Linked DNA regions of Homo sapiens: regions 1 and 3 are each linked to region 2. The links are contacts of gene promoters, found by promoter capture Hi-C in blood cells and fetal thymus (Javierre and others, 2016). All regions are on one chromosome and are shown on one strand. The core of a region is centred on a gene start or on the middle of the fragment in contact, and the rest is flanking DNA. Distances in the headings are between cores, read along the strand shown.

Evidence for each region. Contacts are between HindIII fragments. The CHiCAGO score rates a contact against its expected background, and 5 or more counts as called.
Region 1: a contact is called between a fragment that was not itself captured here and the fragment with the promoter of STUM in region 2, in 1 of 17 cell types (erythroblasts). The highest score is 5.6, in erythroblasts.
Region 3: a fragment that was not itself captured here is called in contact with the fragment with the promoter of STUM in region 2 in 3 of 17 cell types (M2 macrophages, M0 macrophages and endothelial precursors); the score reaches 7.0 in M2 macrophages.

The regions. Positions count from the first base shown.
Region 1 is chr1:227,465,188-227,469,727 of GRCh38, reverse strand. No RefSeq gene overlaps it. Among named protein-coding and RNA genes, the nearest start is that of LINC01641, 74 kb to the right of the region's middle. The HindIII fragment of the contact is 1,445 bases long and covers 780-2,224 here.
Region 2 is chr1:226,546,546-226,550,684 of GRCh38, reverse strand. STUM (stum, mechanosensory transduction mediator homolog) reads right to left here and starts at 1,921. Exons shown (of 4, transcript NM_001003665.4): 1 at 1,579-1,921. The coding sequence starts at 1,780. RefSeq lists a silencer at 2,643-2,937. The HindIII fragment of the contact is 11,252 bases long and covers 1-3,378 here.
Region 3 is chr1:227,448,789-227,452,942 of GRCh38, reverse strand. No RefSeq gene overlaps it. Among named protein-coding and RNA genes, the nearest start is that of LINC01641, 57 kb to the right of the region's middle. The HindIII fragment of the contact is 5,874 bases long and covers 1-4,154 here.

The sequences.
Region 1 (4,540 bases), core at 253-2,752, 920 kb before region 2:
ATCACATTATTCTGAAATGATTCAGAAGAACAAAGTACACTATTTACGTCTGATTTTTTTCTAAGTAACCAAAATAATTCCATTCTTCATTGTAGTAAAACTAAAATGTTTTACATCTAAGTAGGAATTTCTCAGTTTCCAAGTAAACTGATATAAAATTGTCCAAACTAAAGATATTAACAGCAAATTGTTAATGTCCTGCCTCAGTTTCTATGGAAACTTAGGAATTGTAGGCAAATGCTGAAATTGAGGTTTCGCTTATCACTTTATTGAATGCCAGAAAAATAAATTTCAAGAGGCAAATTGAAATGAAAATTTAAGTGTCATGCAAATAAACATAAAATGTTAAATTCTGTGCTCACAAACTATTTTTTTAACTTTTCTGATTTAACACTCCTTATTATTGTTCTATGCTTAAGGCATGATACCTTACCTCTCCTGTCTCCAGCTTCTCTTGTCCAGGAAATTCTCAGCTTCAATTTACAGTGACAAGAGAAAACTCTTTAAAAATTATTAACCTGCTTGATTGGTAAATTTGGGTAATTTTATTACCTCTACTTTTATCCGTATCTGTTGAAATTAATGTATAGACATAAGATGGAGCCAGGCAAGATGGAATATATCAGTAATTCCAGCTACTCAGGAGGCTGAGGCAGGAGGATCACTTGAGCCCTGGCCAGAAGACTGAGGCCAGTATGGGCAACACAGTTAAGACCCCTTTCCCTTTAGAAAAAAAAATGGACAGGTAAATGTTGCCTCTGAGTTGTATAAAATAAGCTTTTAATTGAACTAATCAAGGTGGAGTAAGTTCTAAGAGATAAGTTTACTTTATAGGTAAAACATACAATGTATTCCACAGTTTTAAAGTTTAGGAACTGAATTAGGCATCGCTACCATCTCCATGTCAGTTTCAGGGTACTTACTATAGAACCTTAGTTCTGTTCAGTAGCTGTCTTACATAGTCATTTCAGATCTCAAAGTCTTTGTTTTTTCATCATCAATACAGGGAGAATATACACAGGCCTTATTTGTGTTTGGAAGGGCCAAATAAGATGTACATTAAAATGTGTTGTACATACTAAAAAAAGACATGAAGAGCCTATTTTGGGATCTCATCCAGCACTACCCATCTACCAACTGGTGTGTAAAGTCACTGAGGTTTACCTTACACCACCAAACAGAGCATAAATATTCACAAGTACTTCCATACTTTGTGCATAAAGTTACAATCTATTAACACAATCTATTCGTTCTTTCACTATTATTGAATATTCTGAAAATTGAATATGGTACTTTCCAGTTATAAAGGCACATACATCATGAGCTTTAATTCTTCTTCTTCTTTTTTTTTTTTTTTTTTGAGACGGAGTTTTGCTCTTGTTGCCCAGTTTGGAGTGCAGTGGCGCGATCTCGGCTCACTACAACCTCCACCTCCCAGGTTCAAGTGATTCTCCTGCCTCAGTCTCCTGAGTAGCTGAGATTACAGGCATGCACCACCATGACCAGATAATTTTTTGTATTTTTACTAGTGATGGGGTTTCCTCATGTTGGCCAGGCTGGTCTCAAACTCCTGACCTCAGCTGATCCACCTGCTTTGGCCTCCCAAAGTGCAGTGATTACAGGCGTAAGCCACCATGCTAGGCCTAAGTTTTCTAACTTTTAAAGAAATTAAGAGCCCAATCAAAGTTTAAACAGAAGAGCTATAAGACATTTTCTCTATACTAATGAAATATCTGGCATTTATTAAAACAAATGAGACAACCAGATTTAACTATCTTTATGATACAATGTTTTCTATTTCAAAGAACTTAGTTTTTATTCAAGAACCATATTATTCAAAACCATTTCTACTTAAATTCGTTCTTTTTCTGATGGTAAAATATTAAAAATTTTCTTTCATCTCCCCCCTTTCCATCCCTATCAGAGATTAGAGTTTGAACTCTAACACTCTCATCTTTGAACATAATTCTGTTGACATGAGGAGGGAGCTATGGAAACAAACACTTGAACAGGCAGCATCTGGCATTTTAAACTCCCAAACCTTTACATCACAAATGTAACTCTGAATTTATGTTCCAGCTCTTGAAATTTTTTTACTATGAACCACCCCTCCACTTTTAGAACAAGGAGGAAAATGAAGTCCAGTAAGTCACCAGAGTAGATCTGAAGATATATTTGGGTTAAAGAGGAAATCTTAAAGCAATCAAAACACTGTGGGTAAGCTTTGGGTTTAAAAAACCATCAACTATTCTGCAGCCCTGGCAGTAACATTTTACACCATTCATAATCATTTTAAGCACTTCTCCAATTTTCTTCCCTTCAGTGTTCAAATTATAGTTGGAGGAATAAAGCCATTTCTATCGAGGTGACTTAAAACAACTTATTAAAAACTCCATACGCCAACCTCTATTCTGAATTTAAGCAAGAAATCCCTAAACATTGGGTCTAAATTTTCCCAAGTATCAGCTACCTTAACACATAAGAGAAAGGGAACAATCAGACTCTTACCTGGCTCCTTCATTTAGGTACCATCTAGATAGATAAGGAGAATGGGATGGGTACTCAGAAGTTGGAGTATTTGAGTTCTCATTAAGAAAAGGCAAAGAAGATATGAAGAAAGCTTCGAAAAAGTCTCATAGAATGATAAATTGTAGGGCTCAGACTGATGTCCTTTGGCAGACCAGCTTGGAGCTGGCATTGGGGGACACACAAGTCAGCATGCTTTCCATGGAGTGGTTCTGCTCCTCTTCACCACCATGTCAACCTTTGCTTGCTGCTGCCTGCTCACAGATCTCAGACCTGAAGTAGGACCCCGCTGTCCCCCTGATCCAGCCCAGTTTGGTGCTAGCATTGGGTGACACACAATAGGTCGGCATGGTCCCCATGGTGCACTTCTGCTCTTCTCTACTGCCATATGTTCCTTTGCTCACTGCTGCCTGCTTGCAGATCTCAGACCTGTGGGTAGGGCTCCACTGATCTCCTGTGCCAGACCAGCTTCCACTCTTCTCTGCCACTGCCTGCATTTTTGCTTGCTGCCACCTGCTCATAGATCTCAGCCCTACAATCGGGCTCCACCAGCCCTGTGCAGCAGCCCCACACAGGGCTGGCATTGGGGAAGATGCAAGAGTTCAGCATGTTACCAATGGGGCACCTCCACTCCTCTCCACCACTGCCTGTGCCTTTGTTCAATGCTGCATGCTCATAGATCTCAAACTCATAATAGGGCTCCACTGACCTCCTGCACCAGCTCTATTGGGGGCTGGCAGCATGGGACACGCAAGAGGTCATCATGTTACCCATGTGGCACCTGCACTTCTCTCCACCGTGGCCTGCACCTTTACTCACTGCTGCATGCTTATAGATCTCAGACCCACAATAGGGCTCCACAAATCTCCTGTGCCAGCCCTACTTGGGGCTGGGATTGAGGGACATACAAGTAGTCAGCATGTTCCCCAGAGGGTTCTTCCAGTCCTATCCACTGCCATCTGTACCTTTGATCATTGCCTCCTGTTCCTCATAAATCTCAGACCCCCAGTAGAGCTCCGCCAACCTCTTGTACCAGCACCGCTCATGGCTGGCATTTCAAGACACATAAATGATCAGCATATTACTCTTGGGGCACTTCTGCCCCTCTCCTCTGCCATCTGCATGTTTGCTCACTACAGCCTGCTCGTAGATCTCAGATCTGAGGTAGAGTTCCACTGACCTCCTGCACCAGCTCTGGTTGTGACTGGTTTTGGGGAACATGCAAGACGCCAATGCATTACCCAAGGGGTGCCTTTGTTTCTTTCCACTACCACCTACACCTTCACTCGCTGCCGCTTGCTCATACATCTGAAACTCACAGTAGGGCTCCACCGACTTCCTATGCCTGTCCTGTTTGGGGCTGGCACTAGGGGACATGCAAGAAATCAGAGTGTTACCCATGGGGCATCTTTGCTCCTCTCTGCTGCTGCCTGTGCCCTTGCTTGCTGCTGGCTGCTCCTTGATCTCAGATTTGCAGTAGTCCCCCACCAACCTCCTGTGCCAACCCCACTCGGGGCTGGCACTTTGGGACATACAAGAGGCCAGCCTGTTACCCATAGAGCAGCTCTGTTCCTCTCTTCCACCATCTGCATGTTTGCTCTCTGCAGCCTGCTCGGAGATCTCAGACCCACAGTAGAATTCTGTCGATCTCCTGCACTGACATTGCTTGGAGCTGGAACCCCGGGACATGCAAGAGGTTAGCCTGTGACCCATGGGGCGCCTCCACTCCTCTCCTCTGCCATCTGCTTGTATGCCTCCTGCAGGCTGCTTGGAGAATGCAGCCTCACAGTAGTGTTCCCGCCGAAGTCTTGGGTCAGCCTGGTTGGGGCTGGCACTCTAGGACATGAGAAGTTAGCCTGTGATCCACAGGGCACCTCCACTTCTTCTGTCATCTGCATGTTTGCAGCTGCTGTCTGCTCCTAGGTCTCAGCCTCGCAGTAAGATTCTGCCTACCTCCTACACTGGTCCTGCTTGGGCCTGGCACTGAAGGACACGGAAGAGGTCAGCATGTTAC
Region 2 (4,139 bases), core at 672-3,171:
TGCAGCCCCTCTCACCTGGCACCAATGCATTTGTTTCCTCAAAAGACCATAGGGTGGCGTTTACCTCACCACTTAAAAAAAAAAAAAAAGGTGGATCAAGATGCATGCTGGCTCAGGAGGATCTTCATATCCGCCAGAGGGAGGGGCAGGCAGTCTCTTTTTACTCCAGCAGGTGAGAATTTCTGATAAAACTAGATTAACACCAGCTGGCCTCCTTGCAGTGTCTAAATGTGCAAAGAGAGCTGATCTGATGACACCAGCCAGGGGGACAGGCTGCTGGAGGCACCCCAGAAGAGAGAAGCCCAACTAAAGGCCACCTAACTTACTGCTCAGATAGGCTGCTCTGGCCGCAGCAGCCCCTTAGGGTAGAAAGACAAGTAAGCTCGGAGGGGAAAGTGAACGGGTCCTGCGTGGGTGGCTGTGGCCTTGGCTGTCACCGCAGCAGAGGCCCCTGCTAAGCAGGCGAAGAGCGAGGAGACCGTGAGAAAGGCCAAAGTCAAACTGAAAACCCCTTCCAGCTGGCCTCTGCTCTTGGGAACTTGGAACCATACGTTGGCAACAGGCTCGCCGACAGGGGCACGCTTTCTCCCGGAGAGGGCACTGGGGCGCCTGGTTCTTCGGGCGGGCACGGGAGAGGGGGGCACCTCCCAGCACGCAGGAGCAGCCAGTGCCAAGCTGGAGGAGGGGAGGGGCGTGCAGGCAGAGACCTGGGGGTGGAGTTAAGGGAGGGAGGGTCAGGAAAACTTCTCATTCCCTGCCTCCATTCACCCTCCTGCACCATCTCTGTAAGGGGCCTCTGCTTTAAAACGTGGGACATAGATGCCACCAGAACCCCTGCCGGCTGCCGGAGTCCTGCACAGAATTACATCGGCGCACTCTCTACTTCTCAGGAACAGAAGGGATCCGAGGGAGCTATGGGTTCATCTCTGGCCACATGCATCCAAACTAATAAAATCATCCCCCATCCCCCTGGCGCCCTGCGGGGTGCTGGCGGAAGTGCAGGTACCCCTGAATGAGGCGGAGGAGACTCTGGCTAGAGTTCTCGTCCCCACGCGGTCCGCACTCCGCGAACCAAAGGGGGCTGCAGGTATATCTAGCCCGGCTCGTCCTCTTTCCCCGGCTCAGCTGACTTCGACGCCCGGGAGTTTGATCCTCGCCGCCGAGGCCCTAGAGCTCATTCTGATCCGACCCCATTCCTCTCGGGGAAGTGGGCTCGCGGACGGATGCACACGACGGAGAGAAGGAGCAGAAATCGGGGCGCCGGGACGGGAGCCCTACTCCGAAGCCGGCAGAGCCATTCCGGCCGCCGCTGCGGGCTCCAACATTGGCCGCAAAGTTTCCGGCTCTTTGGGGCCCCGCCTGCGGGTCGGAGACCCCAGCGCAGCCTCTCCCCTCTGGGGTGCACACTCCACGCGCTTCTGCCACCTGCCCGGGGACGCCAGGAGCGGGCGGTGGCGCGTGGTCGCAGCACTTGGAGCGCGCGGCCCCGCCAGGAGGTCTCCGGCCGCGCCCTTCTCTCCCCCCACGCCCTCCCGCGGCGGGGTGGGGGTCGCAAGGGTCGCGGCAGCCGTGTCTTACCCAGTCCCGGCACGAAAGTGTTGAGGAAGAGGCAGATGACGGCCACGGGGAAGGGCATGTAGGGGATGGCGGCGCGCAGGGGGCCCTTCTTCTCGCGGACCTGCACCACCACCCCGCTGGACGAGGACGCCCCCCGGGGGTCCGCCGCCGCCACCGCCGCCGCCGCCGCCGCCGTCTCGGCGTCTTTGTGCGAGGGCTCCATGGCCGGGCGCGCTCTCAGGCAGCCGGGCAGCACGGCCGGAGCTGGCGCCCAGCGTACGGGAGCAGGAGACTGTCGGCTGCGGGCTCCGGGCTCCGCGCCGAGCTCAGGCGGCCGCCGTGCTCCGTGCGCCGCGCGGCTCGCGGAGACTCCCGCCCTCCGGCGTCCCCACACGCCCGGCGGAGGGGCGGGGAGGGCGGCGCGACACCCGGTGACAGCGCTCTGACGCCCCTCCTCGCCAGGCCCCTTCCCCGCCCCCTCCCCCCAACCAAAACCACCGCTCACAAGGAATGGAAAATCAGGGCGGAGGGAAAGCAGTGGAAGAGGACCGCAAAGGGAGCTGTTTGCCCAGGTGCTGGAAGGGGTGGACACACCTCGCCCTCCCAGACAGGTGAACTAGGAACCTTGACCACGAAGCCCTGCGAACTGGGAGTGTGTGCTTGGCTGACACCGTCGGGAAAGCCTCGAGGCTGAGTCCCCTGATCTAGAGCAAGCCTTTGGCCAGGGACATGGGGACAAGGGACGGACCGCGCGGCGCCTGACACCTAGTCGGCCTTCAGTGCATTGTGATTTAAATGATTTTGTTTGGGGCGAGCGCAGTGGCTCCCGTCTGTATTCCCCACTTTGGGAGGCCAAGGTGGGAGAATTACTTGTGCCCAGGAGTTCGAAACCAGCCTGGGCAACGTAGCGAGACCCCCCCCCCCCCGCCCCAGCTCTATTTTGTAAAAAAAAAAAAAAAAAAAAAAAATCACTTAAAAAATATATAGGAGTGAATTTGTTTCAAGTGTCAGAGAAAAAGCAATCCAGAGATCGGATCGATAATAGAGGAAACAGATTTGCAAACACCAGGCCAGGTCTCCGCAAGACTAGTTAAAAGATGGGACACTTCCCTACACACACGCACCAAAAGCAGAAAGAAATGCGCCTGTTGCAGGCTTGTTGGGAAGCGTTCACCATCCCCTGAACTATACTGGAGGAAACCTGAGCCTTCTGTGAGCCCGACGTGGTGGTTAAAGAGCCAGTGAGGACACAGCGCCGTCTGGCGTTAATAATGGGGCAGTTGGTAGAAGCAACAGCCGGCAGCTTGAGGTCCTGTTTGAATTCGATTTTCTGAATAAGGCTGCTTCGCCTCCGCACCTGGAAAAAGTAAACGGATGAAAGTTACCGCCTCTAACGTTAGGGAGGGGTTAAAGGCTTCGGAATTATCCAGACAGTCAGCAAATCGTCTGAATAATTGGAAGGGTGCAATAGCCTCCCTTCAGGAATAATAGTGATTATTATTATAAACAACCCAGGGTCTCAGAAGAGGCTAAAAGAACATGGGTTATTGTATACTTATACTTATTGTATAAGTCTCTGAATAAAATAATTTTAAAAGCAAATGGCCAGGGGTTAGTGATGATACTGGTGGACACACACATGCGTGTGTACACATACACAGATACACACACACACGAGTCATTAGCTTAGGTTTGGCAGTCAGAAGAACAGGGTTAAAAATTTTAGTCTTTGTTCAGCCACTAAAACCTGTATGGCTTAGAAGAACTCGCTTAGCCTTTTCTGGCCTGGAGTTACTGTGTTGGTTAAAATCATAGCAAGCTTCCATTTAATACACAATTATTGAAGGCCTACTAAGACTTAGATTCCAGGGAGAGAGAAATGAGTAAAATCCAGCCTCTGCCTTCAAGAATCTAAGAAATGAGCTGAGAGATACTGACAACTACAAAGATAGACTTACAGAAACAGTGAGGAATGTTGCAGCTGTGATGTGCTGGAGGTGCTGCGACAACATGGACCTATCTGTGAAGCCAGCTAGCGTGGGGGAGGCCTCGGGGAGGTGTCCCAAAGAAGGCGATACTCAAAGGGACTTGAGCAATGACTACAGTTAACTATTTGCAGATTTGTTTTATTTTCAACAAACACTTATTTACCCAAGCACTCTCTGCCAGGCATCATTCTAAAAACCCTTTACACATTTTAACTCTTTTAATCCTTACCATAACTCTACAAAGTAAGGATTATTTATTACCCCATTTTACAGATGGGGCAATTGAAGCACAGAGAAGTTAAACAGGCTGCACAAAGTCCCCCACTAATCAGTGGTAGAGCTGGCAGCTGAATGCAGGCAATCTGGCTCCAGAATCAATTCTATATAACCAGTATTTTATTCAGAGACCTAGAAAATAACCCACATTCTGTGAATATTCTTTTGCAGAGCACTTGAACTGTCTTAGGGCCAGTCAATCATTCCTCCTGGAGAAAAAGGATTTCAGGGACGTCAGTGGATTTGCATCCCCCAGTTTTCCAGATGATTTGCTGAATATCTTGGATGTCAGAAAGACATCCAGGCAGAGCAACAAAA
Region 3 (4,154 bases), core at 232-2,731, 900 kb before region 2:
CGGGGTGTAGTGGCCCATGCCTGTAGTCCCAGCTACTCCAGAGACTGAGGTGGGAGGATTGTGTGTAGTAGCCCATGCCTGTAGTCCAAGCTACTCCAGAGGCTAAGGTGGGAGATTGCTTAAGCCCAGAAGGTTGAGGCTGCTGTGGGTTGCGATTGCACAATTGCGCTACAGCCTAGGTGACAGAGCAAGACCTATCTCAAAACGTATATATAAAATAAAATAAATAAAATATGTAAAGGCCAGGTGCAGTGGCTTACACCTGTAATCCCAGTGCTTTGGGAGGCCAAGTGGGGAGGATCACTTGAGGCCAGGAGTTCCAGACCAGCCTCAGCAGTGTAATAAGATGCTCATCTCTACAAAAAATTAGCGGGGTATAATGACTTGCCTATACTTCTAGCCTCTGGGGAGGCTGAGGCAGGAGGATCATGTGAGTCCGGGAGTGCAAGGCTGCAGTGAGCTATGATTGCACCACTGCACTCTAGCTTGGGTGGCAGAGCATGACCCTGTCTCTTTAAAAAAAAAAGGGGGGGGGAGAATTCTGATGATAAAAGAAGGTAAGTTAAAGAATAAGATTAAATGAAGGTAGAGGGGAGTTCTACTGGACATCTTTCCTTCTTTTTTCCCAGCCAATCAGAAGCACTGCACCAAAGTCAGAAATGGAAGTCAGTGAAACAAACAAGCAAGGGGATCCTGTCAGATTATAAAAGGATTACAGCAACATCCCACTTCCAGTGCTGCAAGCATTAGCAGGGTGGCTGTGATGTCTGCTGTCCAGCATACAAGCAATGATGTCTGCACTGAACCCTTCCTGCAGTGGGCTGGGTCTTTGTTTCTGTTTGTGTCTCCTCCAGATCTTGTTTTTCCAGTCCTTCTAGCAATTCTGTGAGGTACCCAATGTCTTTTTGGTGTACTTGTTTTCCATTCTAAATTACTATAATTAGTTTCTGTTGCTTACAACTAAGATCCCTGTAGTATGCCTCATCCTGGCCCCTGCTACATAACCCTCGGCTCCCCTCCACCTGCTGACTGCAGAGGATAGGATGGGCCAAATGCCAGCCGCATTTTTCCTGACCCCAGCCACCAGGCTGCAGCCACAGTGGAGGGCTCCTCAGTCTTCTGGAGCTCTGAGGGCAGGTTGGGGGAAAGGAAGGGCAGGGTTCTGCCTTTAGATCAAAGCACTATGGATTCAGAACATGGGGAGGCTGTGGAGCAAGCCTCGGTCTATCAGAGCAAGCCTCCAGCATGATCCAGGACTGCTCAGGTGAAGATGGACACAGCCAACACATATCCTCTGCAGAAGAGGTGTGACTCACAAGCTCTTCCCCAACCAGCTGCTCATGGAGGAACATGTCAAGAGCTTAGCATTGTCATCCACTGCCTCAGCTTCCTATTGAGGGGCAGCCATGTCCTCGAGCCATGTCCAGACTTCTCACCACACTTCAGACTCCCATCTCCAGCACTACCAAGTACCCACCACCTCTGCAGTCATCCCAACTCATCTTGACCAAGCCCAGCCTCACATTGTTGAGAACAGAAGACTTCAGCAGAGGAAGGGGCCTCCCCGGTGCCTATTTTTCTCAGAATCCGGCTGCAGCAGAGGTCAGAGAGCCCTTTTAGAAAGGGGCATTTTTCTCACTTGCTTTCTTGTATTGTGACATCACCTCTGACATCTGTGCCTTGGGTAATCTGAGGATCATTGCACAATCTTCAGTCCTAAATTTCCATGGAATATGAATTTTCTATGCTTCACCTCTTACATTCCTTGCTTATATATCCCTGGCTCATTCCTACTGGTAAGAGCAAATTTCAGCAAGTTGGTGCACTTAATTCTTCCAGCTATTTCCCATATCCTCACCAATTAGTGCTTACCTGTTTAGCCTCCCAGGACTATTCTGGACTACATTTCAGATGCTTCCAGCCACCTCCTCTTTTAGCAGCTGCTATCCAAGTCTTTGTAGTATTGCTCACCATCTGAGGTTCATGAAATGGAAATTATGAACCAGATGATAATTTATCATGGTTCCTTGGTTGCAAGCAACAGAAACCAACTTCAGCTAATCAAACAAAAGGATAACTTGTTGAAAGGTTATCAGGTAGCTCACAGAGGAGACAGGCTGGAGAGCCAGTCTTGAAATAGAACTGGAACCAACAGAAACTGGCCAACTATTTTGTCTGAGAGTTGCTGAGGAGACAAGTGTCATCCAAGTGTTCATTTCTGATGATGCAAGATCCTGTCTCAGGAGACAGTCTGAGTGCTCCAGCCTAGGTCACGTGCCCATCTCTTGGCTATGAGGAAAAGCCCCTTGATTTACTGTCCTACCAAGAGTCCACACAAGGAGAGAGGGTTAAGTCCACAAATCAGAAATTGGGGTGCTGTATCCAATAAAAGGGAAATGGAGGCTGAGCAATTAAAAAAATAGCCACTACAAGTACCTATGTTGCTGTACGTTCCATCAGCTCACCTCACCGCTGCAGAGACCACACAGGAAAGCTCTCCCACATATCCTGCCTGGCCTGCTCCATAATCATATGGCTTTGACCCCGTTACAGTAGGTAGCTAGTCAGGCATGAGCCCGGCAGATGAGAGCTCCCCCATCGACCCCACCAGGAATATCAGGTGACCATCAGATGATGATCAGGCAGTTGTCACACTGTCTCGCTAAAATAATAACTGGTTGCAGCTGGTTCCAGAGAAAGGCAGTTTCCCAATATGTAGAAACGCCTGAAGCTGGTAATCAGCAGCTTCCCGATAAGATCTCGGGAGTTGTACGAGTGGGCTCATGCATGTGAACTGAGGCAAAATGGCAGAGTTTAACTGGTATATGTTCTCCTAGAGACATTCCACTGGTAAGGGAAGAATGCTTCAAGTGAGCATGCAGACAACTCCAGTAAACACACTGTACATGCTCCCCTCCCAAGTGCTAGCAGGCCACTGTGCCTGTGGACAGCCCACCCCAAGGGAGGAATCAGTGGAGAAGGGACACAAGACGCCAGAAGCATGCGAATGTATAAAACCCCAAGTCAAAAGGTCAAACCACACACTTGTCTTTCAGATTGCCCACTTGGCCCTCTTCCAAGTGTACTTTCCTTCTTTTTGTTTCTGCTTTAGAGCTTTTTTTTTTTTGAGCCAGAGTCTCCCTCTGTCACCCAGGCTGGAGTGCAGTGGCACGATCTCAGCTCACTGCAACCTCTGCCTCCCGGGTTCAAGCGATTCTCCTGCTTCAGCCTCCTGAGTAGCTGGAATTACAGGCACCCACAACCATGCCCAGCTAATTTTTGTATTTTTAGTAGAGACAGGGTTTCACCATGTTGGCCAGGCTGGTCTCGAACCCCTGACCTCAGGCGATCTACCCACCTTGGCCTCCCAAAGTGCTGGGATTACAGGCGTGAGCCACTGCTCCTGGCCTTTGCTCTAGAGCTTTTTAATAAACTTTCACTCCTGCTCTAAAACTTGCCTCAGTCTCTCCTTCTGCCTTCTGCCCGTCAGTCAAATTCTTTCTTCTGAGGAGGCAAGAATTGAAGTTGCTGCAGACCTGTATGAATTTGTCGCCAGTAACTCGGATACCCAACACCGGTAACAACCCCAGCTGCTTTTACATCAAGTTCCACTGACCCTGGAAGCTGACCAGTAATGGTGCTCAACAGGCTGCTAGAAGAGTCTCCAGGGTGCCCTCTGGGGGTCAAGAGCATGTATAACCTCTTAGAGGTCAGGAACTTTAATGTAAAGGTTACTGAATGAACGAATCCAACCAGGCTGAGTCTCAGGGTATGACACTCAAGTAGGTGTCTGATCTTCCCCATTGTACAGACAGCATCATCCGCTCAGGAACCTGGAGAAAGTACCTGGGGGCGTCAAGATTTCAGAGGTCATCAATCCAATGGCCTTCTGATTTGAATGATCTCCCTCCACTATCTTTCCCCATTCTCTGCTTCATTCAGCTCACTGGGCCATTAGCTTCCCCTCCCTCTAGCAGTGATAGCCCCTTGCCCCCAGGGTCCAAGGATGGAACAGATGTTGGACTTCTAGTGATACAGTCCAGGAAGGCTCAAGAGGAGATGCCACTGTGGTTAAAGCATCCCATAAAAGTGGCTGGGAAATCCTGGTCCTGTTCTACTTCTGTGGTGGAAACTTTACTTCTACACCCACTCAG